3 separate regions of the Homo sapiens genome follow, and regions 1 and 2 are each linked to region 3. Evidence: promoter capture Hi-C in 16 types of primary human blood cells and fetal thymus (Javierre and others, 2016). All regions are on one chromosome and are shown on one strand. The core of a region is centred on a gene start or on the middle of the fragment in contact, and the rest is flanking DNA. Distances in the headings are between cores, read along the strand shown. Region 1 has its middle 120 kb from the start of SNORD3F. Region 2 has its middle 150 kb from the start of LZTS1. Region 3 holds the start of FGF17 (fibroblast growth factor 17).

The links. The method cuts DNA at HindIII sites, captures the fragments that hold promoters and counts their contacts. A CHiCAGO score of 5 or more calls a contact.
Region 1: a contact is called between a fragment that was not itself captured here and the fragment with the promoter of FGF17 in region 3, in 4 of 17 cell types (naive CD8 T cells, non-activated CD4 T cells, naive CD4 T cells and 1 more). The highest score is 7.0, in naive CD8 T cells.
Region 2: a contact is called between a fragment that was not itself captured here and the fragment with the promoter of FGF17 in region 3, in 4 of 17 cell types (total CD4 T cells, naive CD8 T cells, non-activated CD4 T cells and 1 more). The highest score is 8.6, in total CD4 T cells.

Annotation. Positions count from the first base shown.
Region 1 is chr8:20,492,493-20,495,830 of GRCh38, forward strand. No RefSeq gene overlaps it. Among named protein-coding and RNA genes, the nearest start is that of SNORD3F, 120 kb to the right of the region's middle. RefSeq lists an enhancer at 864-1,402. The HindIII fragment of the contact is 288 bases long and covers 1,797-2,084 here.
Region 2 is chr8:20,452,131-20,455,910 of GRCh38, forward strand. No RefSeq gene overlaps it. Among named protein-coding and RNA genes, the nearest start is that of LZTS1, 150 kb to the left of the region's middle. The HindIII fragment of the contact is 163 bases long and covers 1,955-2,117 here.
Region 3 is chr8:22,041,306-22,044,777 of GRCh38, forward strand. It overlaps FGF17 (fibroblast growth factor 17), which reads left to right and starts at 1,515. Exons shown (of 5, transcript NM_003867.4): 1 at 1,515-1,658; 2 at 1,840-1,876. The coding sequence starts at 1,624. RefSeq lists an enhancer at 2,273-3,472. The HindIII fragment of the contact is 13,376 bases long and covers 1-3,158 here.

The DNA.
Region 1 (3,338 bases), core at 691-3,190, 1.5 Mb before region 3:
TGGTCTCCCCTAAGGCTATCTAAATCTATGTGGTCCTCAAGGGAGTGGAAGGAGCAAGTGCTTTGGATTTAAAAGTCTAGGTTTAAGTCTTAGATCCTCACCTTACTTAAGTTGCGCGACCTTGGGTAAGCCATTGAACATGTCTCAGGGTCAATTTCCTCACCATTAAATATGGGACAATAGCAACTACTACACTAGCTTGTCACGAGGAGTAAATATGATAACTAGGTTAAACTCCCAGCACAGACCCAGGCATACTTTAGTTTGCTCAACAAGCATTGGCGATTGGATTCCTTCACAACCTTAATATGATCTAACCAGAGAGCCATTCAATGCACAATTATTGAAAGCCTGTGATGCACATGTACCTGCAAGGGATAGTAAGGTGCAGGAGTTACAGCTCCCCCAAGGATGATAACAGTTGCCTTGCAGCTTTCCCAACCTCCTCAGTGTGCAGGCCCCTCCCCACCTCTCCCTCCTGGTATCTCTACTGCACAGACCCATGCTCCATCTGAACACCAATCTCTTAGGCATTGCTATTTACATCTTCCTACATATCAGTTATGCCTCTCCATGTCAATTGTGAGCTGCTTGAGGGGAGAGACTTCCATATTCTTCCCTGTCCCCATACAACAGTTAACACAGGCACATGCCCTGTGCTCTCTAAGTAATTGCTAAATAAATACATTTTAAAGGAATGTTTGTGATCCTTGATAACACCGAGCAGTTTTCATTTTGCAGGCTGACACCTGTTGGAACCATAACATCAATTTTGCGGGCTGTGACATCAAAATGCCCCTAGTACGCATGAGTATTATTTGCTGAAACTTTCGTTTTTGTCTTAAATGCCTGTCACAGGCTGGGTTGTGGTTTAAAAATAAGTTTCTTACTTTTGATCATGGTTTGAAAAAAGAAAAAAAACAGTGACAGGATGCGTATGACAAGGCTCCTAGCTTGGATGCTGAGCCCCTTGTGGGCAGAATCAAAGACATTGGGCACCAAGACCTCCCAGCTGGAGAGGAAGCAACTGGTTTCAGAAAAGCTCTCCTGGGGTTGGGGCGGATTAGAAGACAGGCAGTCAAGAGAAGAAATGCTCAGGGGCCTGAGCACAGTCGCTCAAACTGCTTATTGTCTGGGCAACAAATAGGCACTGCAGGCGCACCTAAAAACCTCAAGTGTCTTTCCTTCAGAAAGACACAAAGCACTTAAGACCCTGCAATTGCTCAAGATTTTCCTCTAGGGATCCTTGTTTTCTCTAGAGCTTTAGATTGTAATAGAAACACCGTTGCCTTCATTCTTTTCTCACTTATTAAGCTGAAAAAGTAATCTGGAATCTTTAGCCTTTGGAGATTTGGCGATAATTTCTTGATGCAAAATTTGTATAGACAGCTTGACCATGATTGAAAGACCACATGAAAAAATCCTTGAAATTGAAATTGAAATCCTTGAAACTCAAAATTCTAGGACTGGAAATTCTTATCACCTATAGATGCTTTGAGGTTGAATTCAAAGTGTCATTGACCCAGGCACTGTTGGGAGTAGGAAGCCTTTTTTCTTAGGGAATTTGAGCCTCAACCTCTGTCTGCACTTTGCAGCATTGGCTGTGATGGGGCTTGTCTTGGCTGTGATGGGGCTTGTCTTCTGGTTCCATGTTCTGGACAAATGCTTCCACCTTTCTTTCTGGAACGCCTGCCTAATGTCTGGCTGTCTGCTGTTTGTACTCTGAAAACTACTTTAATTGGGAAGGTAAAATACAGTCTCAAATGCCCTTTTTGTGCCTTGTGAAAGCCCTCTAAAGCTTAGCTTAACTCAAAGAGCTTAAATCAATAGCACCGGCCCATTTTCTAATCACAGGGAATTTAATAATGATCAGGAAAGCCATTATCAGTCTGATCTGTGGGACTGTTTGGACTTTAACTCTTGGAAAACAGCTTCCTGTCAAACTTACATACTGTTATCATATAAAATGTCACTGAGAAGGGTATTAAAATCCCTCTTTGGAGAGAAAGCCTTATAGGGGTTCTATCAAAACTACTCTGTATGCTGATGAGTTAGGTGCTAGGAGAGAGAGAGAGCTAAAAACAAGCTTGGAGGTGGAAAGGAGGGAATTGTTCTCTTTTTGCCACAGCACACCCAAATGGAGAAGGGGAGGCTTCTTGGTGTCTGGGTCTGTAATTCAAGAAGTCCCTTGAGACACCTCAGCCCAGGGGCTGGAAAGTTCACGTCTATCCGCTGAGGCCTGGGAAGCCTGTTGGGGCCCCTGAAGGGAAGGGTGAGAGGAGAGCAGCCATGTCGCTCCATGGCTCCTGGCAGAAGTGTGAGGCTCCTGGACTCTGGTGACTTAGCCCCATTTACCATCACAGAGACATATAATACAGGCATTTGCCTACTTAGATCCCAGCCATGTGAGTTTTGGAAGTCTGCTGAGGTGAATTTCAACCCTGGTTACCATAATGCAGTTGGGCCTTTTGTGAGTTGAATGTGATGTTGTTGTTTTTAGGGATTAAATGTTCAGAGAGAACCACTGACTTGGGGTTAGATGGTTGGCCTTTAACAAAACCCTAAAGGAACAGGGTGTGAACAGTTACATAACAAAAGATAAGAGGAACTACTTGAAAAGCTGAGTTGGCCAGCATGGTGGCTTATGCCTCTAATCAGCACTTTGGGAGGCTAAGGTATAAAGAGCACTTGAGCCCAGGAGTTCGAGACAAGCCTGGACAACATAGTGAGACCCCTCATCTCTATAAAAAAATGTTAAAAAAATAGCTTGGTGTGGTGACACGTGCCTGTATTCCCAGCTATTCACAAGGCTGAGGTGGGAGGATTGCTTGAGCCCAAGAGGTTAAGGGTTGGCCAACTCTCTGCACCTGGGTTCTTCCAGCAGCCAAAGACTTGTAGAGAAGAGAAATGAGTGCATGTGGGCTCCGGGGGGCACATTCCTCCATTGTGTGCTCACATCAGACAGTCTCCACGATCCCAGCCAGCTCCTGGGGCTGTGACCTCCTGGGGTCCAGAGTCTTTCCTGAGCCACTGCCATGAAGCCAAAGTCCCCAGAGTGAAGCTGCCTGCACTGTGTCCTATGTCACCAGCCCTGGTTGCCCTACTTGACACAAATGGAGACCCCATCTCCATCTGACTTGTTTAAGGTCTTAAGTCTAAAACCTCAGCATCTTCACAACTCCACTTGCCTTATCCCTCCCCCACCAGATCCCCCCCCTCCAGGACTGCTAATCTCTCCTGCTGGGATGCACGTGCTCCCACCCCACATTTTGCAGGTTTTAACCCCTTTGGCTCTTTCAGATAGGCCTTAACCTCCTTAAGAAACTTATAACACATGG
Region 2 (3,780 bases), core at 786-3,285, 1.6 Mb before region 3:
GGGTATAAATCACAAAAAACGGGAAGAGGCTTAACCTCTCTGCATCTCAGGTTCTCCATCTGTGAAATGGTGATAACAGTTCCTGTCTGCCTGACTCAAGAGATAATGGATATGAAAACAATTTGATGGGAGCAAAACATTACACGAAGTCAAAGTAACATAAATAATATATTGCTTTTTGTTGTTGTTTATATTCCTCAAAATGTGTAGCATGAGTCCTTGGCTGATGTATGGAAAATGGAGCTTGGAGTGAGAGTGGTCTTCATGAGACTTTTTGACAGTCCACAAGTCAGTGCCTTATTTTCAGAGGGTGATTGGCGTTTGCTGTAGGGTAAGGCTGACTGCCCATCTATGGGGTTTCCCAGGTGTTTGGGGTGGGACGAGAGTGAGGGGGATCAATGGTTAAGAGGTAACCTGCCTTCCTTGTTACGCCGGATGGCAGGCCTCTCTCCCTGGGATTTTCCCAGCAGTCTTTACGGAAGGCTCTTCTGCTGGAAGTTACAAAGAGCATGAGGTGATGTGTGTGGGAGAAGCAGTGCTGAGGTTGATGAAGAGCCGCCAGCCGCCTGCAGGCCTGGAGGGGGCCATTTCTGCGTTGCTGTGCGGTCTGCAGGGTGATCGAGGGAGAAGGGATGACGGATGGGAGCAGGGCTTCCTCCCTGCCTTGGTCTGCTGGTTGGCCCATCACTCACACCCCCTGATGGACTGCCTCCTTCCACAAAGGCAGGGCTATAGGGTGGGTTATAGATGAGCTGCTGTAAAAACTACTTTTTCTAATTACATTTTTGAGCTTGGGATGTGGCTGTCCATGGGAGGTGGGAGGTGCCTGATTCTGGAGGAGGAAGTGGAGAAATAAAGTGAGAGGAGAGTGTGGGAGGTTCTTGGGTTGTGTCGATAACTCTATTTAAACAGCTAAGAAGCATCTCTGGGTTTCAGGACTGGCTGTGGGTGAAACCATGACTGGGCTTTGATGATCTTTCCTGGATTCACTCACTTATTCACTCAACAAACACCTCCTGAATGACTACAATGCGTGAGGCACTGTGTACAAGGCATTCTCTAGACAGAACTTGTCGTACTTTATTTTGCATGTGAAGCACTCATGGATTTTTTTTTTTTTTTTTTTTTTTGAGACAGAGTTGCTCTGTCATCCAGGCTGAAGTGCAATGGCATGATCTCGGCTGACTGCAGCCTCTGGCTCCTGGGTTCAAGTGATTCTCCTGTCTCAGCCTCCCAAGTAGCTGGGACTACAGGTGCATGCCACCATGCCCAGCTAGGTTTTTATTTGTTGTTGTATTTTTAGGAGAGATGGAGTTTCACCATGTTGGGCAGGCTGGTCTTGAACTCCTAATCTCAAGCAATCCTTCCACCTTGGCCTCCCAGAGTGCTGGGATTACAGGCGTGAGCCATCAGACGCAGCCACGAATTTTGTTAAAACAGAGTGTGTTTCAGTGGTTATGGGGCAAGGCCTGAGACTCTATATTCCTGACAAGCCCTGATGTCCGCCAGTGCTCCTGATCCACAGAGCATACCCTGTGTGATAGCAAGAGCCCTGGACACACAGTCAGGTACGACGTGGCCTCCCCACATCCATGTCATTTACATTGTGCCTCGAGGGTGAGCTAGATTTTTATAAGTAAGAAGAGGAGGAGAAGGAGGCTGGGGAGAGTGGGGAAGATGCTTTCCAAGGCTGATAGAAGAGTGTGAACGGAACATGCTCGTGGGCAGGTTAGTTCCGAGAGAGAGGAGGATTTCTGGACCATCCCATTGCCAATGAGTTTGGAGCCTTTTCTATAGCAAGTGAGAAGCTATATTCAGAAGGGAGTGAAAGATCTAACCTGTATTGTGTGCACTTCCTTGTGGGGGCCTTTAGAGGGGGCTGGACAGAAGCTGAAGGCAGAGTGGGCTGCGAGGTCCTCTCAGGTCCTGGGGAAAGGCGAGGACACACGATAGAAGCTTGCTCGGGGTGTGGAGAGCTGGCAGACAAAGCTGCACTCCTCAGCCCGGGTGCTAAGCTCACACCACCCTCTGTCTCCTTGTTCACCCCAGAGGCATCAAGCTCTATGTTTTCAGCTTTTTTTCATGAAAATGAATCCTGTTGTTCTATCCTGAATACAAGCTTTCTGAAGACAGGGGGCCTCTTTTGTACCTTGCAAAGTAGCTTGTACTTAGCAGGTGCTCATTAAATATTTGTTGCTGACAAGCGTTTGAGGAAAGTGATGAAGATGGGCTAATTCGCATGATCCCTTTAATGATTTGATCTGATGGCCTACAGTTTTATCTTTTAGGTTGCTGTCCTCCTCTCTCTCTCCCCGTTTGGTGGGAACATCTCAAGGTAGCAAGATTGAAAGGCAGTTGCCACAGAAGACGTTAAAACATACTTTAAGAGATGAATGTGTCACTTCTCCCAGGAGCAGTTGCTTTTAAAGAGAAGATAGAAGAAAGCCACTGGTGCTGGCTCCCCACCCCCTCTGCCCCCAGCCTCTCTTTCTCTCTCTTTGTTATTCTGAGACAGGGTTTCAGTCTATCACCCTGACTGGAGTGCAGTAGCATAATCATGGCTTACTGCAACCTCGACCTTACAAGCTCAAGTGATCCTCTCACCTCAGCCTCCTGAGAAGGTGAGACTACAGGCATGCACCACCACATCTGCCTGATTTTTTCCTTTTTTTTTTTTTGAGACGGAGTCTCACTCTGTCGCCAGGCTGGAGTGCGATGGCACAATCTCGGCTCACTGCAACCTCCGCCTTCCAGGTTCAAGTGATTCTCCTGCTTCAGCCTCCTGAGTAGCTGGGACTACAGGTGCCTGCCACCATGCCTGGCTAATTTTTATATTTTTAGTAGAGATGAGGTTTCACCATGTTGGCCAGGATGGTCTCGATCTCTTGACCTCGTGATCTACCAGCCTCGGCCTCCCAAAATGCTGGGATTACAGGCATGAGCCACCACACCCAGCCTTTTTTCTATTTTTTATAGAGATGGGGTCTCACTATGTTGCCTAGGCTGGTCTTGAACTCCTGGGTTCAAGCGATCCTCCTGCCTTGGCCTTCCCAAATGCTGGGGTTGTAGACCTGAGCCACCATGCCTGGTCATCTTTCCCCAGTCTTAGCATGTGGATGTGAGAGCTGGAAGATTCCCAAAGACCTGGCCGGAGACTCCTGTTTGAAGGAGGAGAGGGAAGAGCCTTAAGGGGTTCCCAAGGTTGCACATCTGGGCAGGGACAGAACATCAGACACATTGTACGGCTGCAACAGGCTGGCACTGCTGACATCACAGACATCAGGACAGACCAGGAAGACACCCATCAAATTCTGGGCTGGAAGATACGGAATACTCTGACTTTACCCAAGGCTGAGCCTTCCTCAGAAGCTCCTGAGAAGAAAAGAATTCAGGGGCCTCATGAATGAGGCTCAGAAATTTGGTGCAATAATCACCAATGAGCCCCAACCCAGGGAAGTGTAACGTATCACCCCAATTTTATAAGGAAGAACACTGAGGCTCAGAGAGGTAAAGTAACCCATCCAAGAGTCATAGAGGGGGATCGTCTGGGTCCAAAGCACAGCAGCCTCATGGGGAGCACCTTGTACTGTGTCCTGTGCTACCCATTGGCAATGCAGACAGCAGGGGGGATGCGTGCATCTGGAGGAAGATTAGCATCAGCATTTCACCTGAAGCCTGAGGGCTCAAAGGAAAATGTTTTACAGGTAGCGGTAGCTCTTCAGAAAACCAGGGAGGGAAGTGACCAGGGATGTGTCTCTGCTTCTGCATGGCGTTATCATG
Region 3 (3,472 bases), core at 265-2,764:
CAGACCACTTTGTGGATTGATGGAGCTCAGGAAGGTGAGAAGGGACCCACAGGTGAGAGTTTCGCTCCCCTGGTCATCTCTTTAGGTAAATAAATCCACATCCGCCACTTCCCCTTCCCTTCCCACCCTGGGGGCGCTGAGAACTCCAGGGAGCCCAGAGCTGAGGCCTGAGCTCTGCTTGCTCACACTGGGTCTTCCCTCAGAGACCCCCAAGCCCTCCTATCTTCTGCAGTCACCGTCATCCACTTTTCTGTAGGGAGGGAACAGCATGGAGCTCTCTGTTCACCGGTCTCCAGGACCTCGGATTCCACCTTTAATCCTGAAAACCCAGGAAGGCTTCTGTATCCCTACAATGAAGCAGGTTTGGGGCTGGATCTGCAGGGTGGCAACTCAATCCATGCAGAACAGAAGAAGCATGGACTTTTCCATTCTGGCTATTCCATTCACTAGCTGGGCCATTCTGAGCAAACTACCTCCCAATGTGCCTCAGTTTCCTCATCTGCAAAATGGGCTAGTCGCTGGCATTGTACCGAGCAGTATGAGACCGGAGGTCATGGGAAGAGGCTGGTAGGCACTTCATCCCAGGCAGCTGCTCAGGGACATGGGACACAGGGAGGGGACTCCGAGCTGCTCCTAGCTCAGAGAGGCTCTAGGGACAGGCACTGGAAGGAAGGGGATGCAGAATGGTGAGTGGAGCTGGGTCTCAGAACACAGACATCTTGAAGTCTGCTATGTGCTGATTTCACACTTGACCCCCCAACACCCTGAGGCATTACTGTCCTCATTTCTCAGATGGAACTACAGAGGCCCAAGGAAAAGGGGCTTAGGCCAGGACACCCAGCTCTTCTCCAAGTGTCTGTCTCAGGCTAGCTTTTGCAACTCTCCATTGGGATTCTTCCTAGATCTCCATCTGTACCTGCCAACCCACCTCTGACCCCCAACCTGTTGCGCCCAGTATTTGCTGCCGATCAGGACAGCCTTAACCCCTCCTTCCCGGGCAATCAGCTGCTCCAAGCCAAGCCCACCCCTGCCCCCTGGAGGGAGGCGGCTCCTTTTAAGGCTGCTTCTGGGAATTTCCACTCCAGAGCCAGAACCAGAGACCCCAGCCCCACTTGACACCTGCGGCTCACCCTTGGGGAGGTGGGGCGCCAGACCTGAGTGCAGGAGACGCAGACCTGGAAGGGCTCCCCCTCCCTGACCTGCCACACATCGAGTTTGTCTGCGTCGAGTTTGGCCAGTCTGTGAGGGTCAGGAATAGAGCAGGAGACAGCAGGGCCACCTCCTTCAGAAGGCCCCCACCGCTCCATCCCTGCACTGGGTGGCCCAGGAGAGACTGGCAGCCCAGAGGGCACAGCGCGCACGCCCCCACCCGCATCTGCTTTGCAGCCTCACTGGCCAGGAAGGTGGACACCTCATACCTCAGTCTCCCAATTACGCCCTCCTCCTCCCCCTCCTCCTCCCTCTTTTCTCTCCTCCTCCTCCCCTTTCTCTCCTCCTCGCCCCCCTGAAAACCTGTGGCTCGGAGAGACCTTGGCTTCTCTGGGACTCTACCCCTGGGGACTTCCCACATCTGCTCCTGAGCTTGGGGGCAGGGGGGCAACCGCCTGAGGAACCTCTCCAGCGATGGGAGCCGCCCGCCTGCTGCCCAACCTCACTCTGTAAGTGTGCTACCTCTCCCACTGGAGTTTCGTTGCCATTTCCAGCCTCAGGGCAGCCCTCCTCTTCCCGGGACTCCCACGCGTGCGTGCACGGGGCTGGCAGGGCGGGGGCGGGGGCCTGGGTGCACCCTAGGCTTGCAGCTGGCACCCACACCTGGGCTTACCTCCTCTCCCCACACAGGTGCTTACAGCTGCTGATTCTCTGCTGTCAAACTCAGGTAGGCGGGCATTCCCACCGGCTTTCCCCCAATTTTTCCACCCTACCTGACCAGGGCGGGTGCAAGGGACCGGCTCCTTTCAGGTGGACAGAGGCAGAGTCTGGCCTCTCCCTGGGTCCAGGAGGCACTGAGGTTTGGAGGGGAGTGAGCCTTTGACCGGGTGGGCAGGGAAGGGGGCTGACTGAGGTTTTGTCTCTGTCCTCCCTCTGAGGACCCTCCCCACTTCCCCTGGGTCTCTGCTCCTCTTCCTCCCTCTCCATCGGGTTCCCCCAGACTTGAGGGATGGAGCCTGGAGCGGTTGGAAGCAGGTGGAGGTGATGGCTCAGGTGAGGCTTGGGTTTGCCAGTACCTGAAAGGACAGGTTTTGATGCAAGACCACTTGTATGTCCTTCTCGCCACCCCACTCCCATCAATATGGATGCCTGGGGTGGGGGTCTCGTGAGCATGTCCAGAATGCCTGGCCAGGGTGAGGTGACTCCTCACCTAGAGGGCACAGAGGTCAAGCCCAAAGAGGTTTGTTTGGGACGGGATGCAGGGTTCGCTTCTCCACACTCCCCCCACCCCAAGTCGGCCCCCCACCTCCCTCCATGCACACCTCCCACCCCCAAGTCTCAGCCCCCAGTGCGAGGCTTGCTCCCTTTTTTGTGATCCTCCATAAAAGTGCAGCTATTAAAATGCACTGGTCCAGAACCGCTCTGGGGAGAGATCGCTTGGCTTTCCCAGGCCAGAGGCCCGCTTCTCTTCATATCCAGTGGGGACTTTTTTTGAAGGTAAATGCCTTTTCTCTGGGAGAGGGAAAGGGGCAGCCTTTGAAGCAGTGGGGGGGTGGGAGAGGGAGAGACAATTCCCCCCCCCTTCCTTCCCCCTTTTGCTCCAGCCCCGTTCCAGGCCTTTTGCTTCACACATCCAGGGGGAGCCAGAAGAAAGCCCCCAGCCTGGCTGGGAGGGGGCTGGGGGTGGGCCCAACCTGTTCTGGAGGGGAACTAGCACAATGGTGCGGCTGGCCGGGCGTTTATGGCCTGGCTGAGGCCCCATTCAGGACTCAGGGAAGGTGGCAAAGCGGTCCTTTCCCCCTTGAAGTGCCCCCTCACCCCCCTGGGAGGGGGGGCCAGCAGGCCGGACCACAGCCATGCTTGAGGGGCTGTCTGACAAGCAGCTGTCTGCAGTGGTGGAAGGGGAGGTCCTCCCGCAGCGGGAACATGAAAGGGACAGGCTAGGTCCCGCGGGGAGAGGGACTTGTGGGTTGTGGGCTGTGGGGGGGCGTGGGGCTGCTTTTGTGAAAAGCTTGAAGGGGGACGAGGAAAGGAGGGGGCTTCGGGGGGGCGCTTTCTGCTCCTGACCTGGAACAGACTGCCAGAGGAGGCCGTCGGCCAAGAGGGGCGGAGGGCCTGAACCTGGGCCAGGAGGCGGGGCTGGGATAGGCAGGACCCCACCCCCTGGAAGGGAGGCCAGCGTGGGGCAGGCTGGGCAGGTCCCCCACCCCAAATGCTCCAGGGTGGGGCGAGGGGCAGGTCTTGCAGAGGCTAGGCAGAGGCTGCTCTATGGGGAGGTGCAATTGGAAATGAGCAACGGTGCACAGTAAGTGTTAACCCCGCG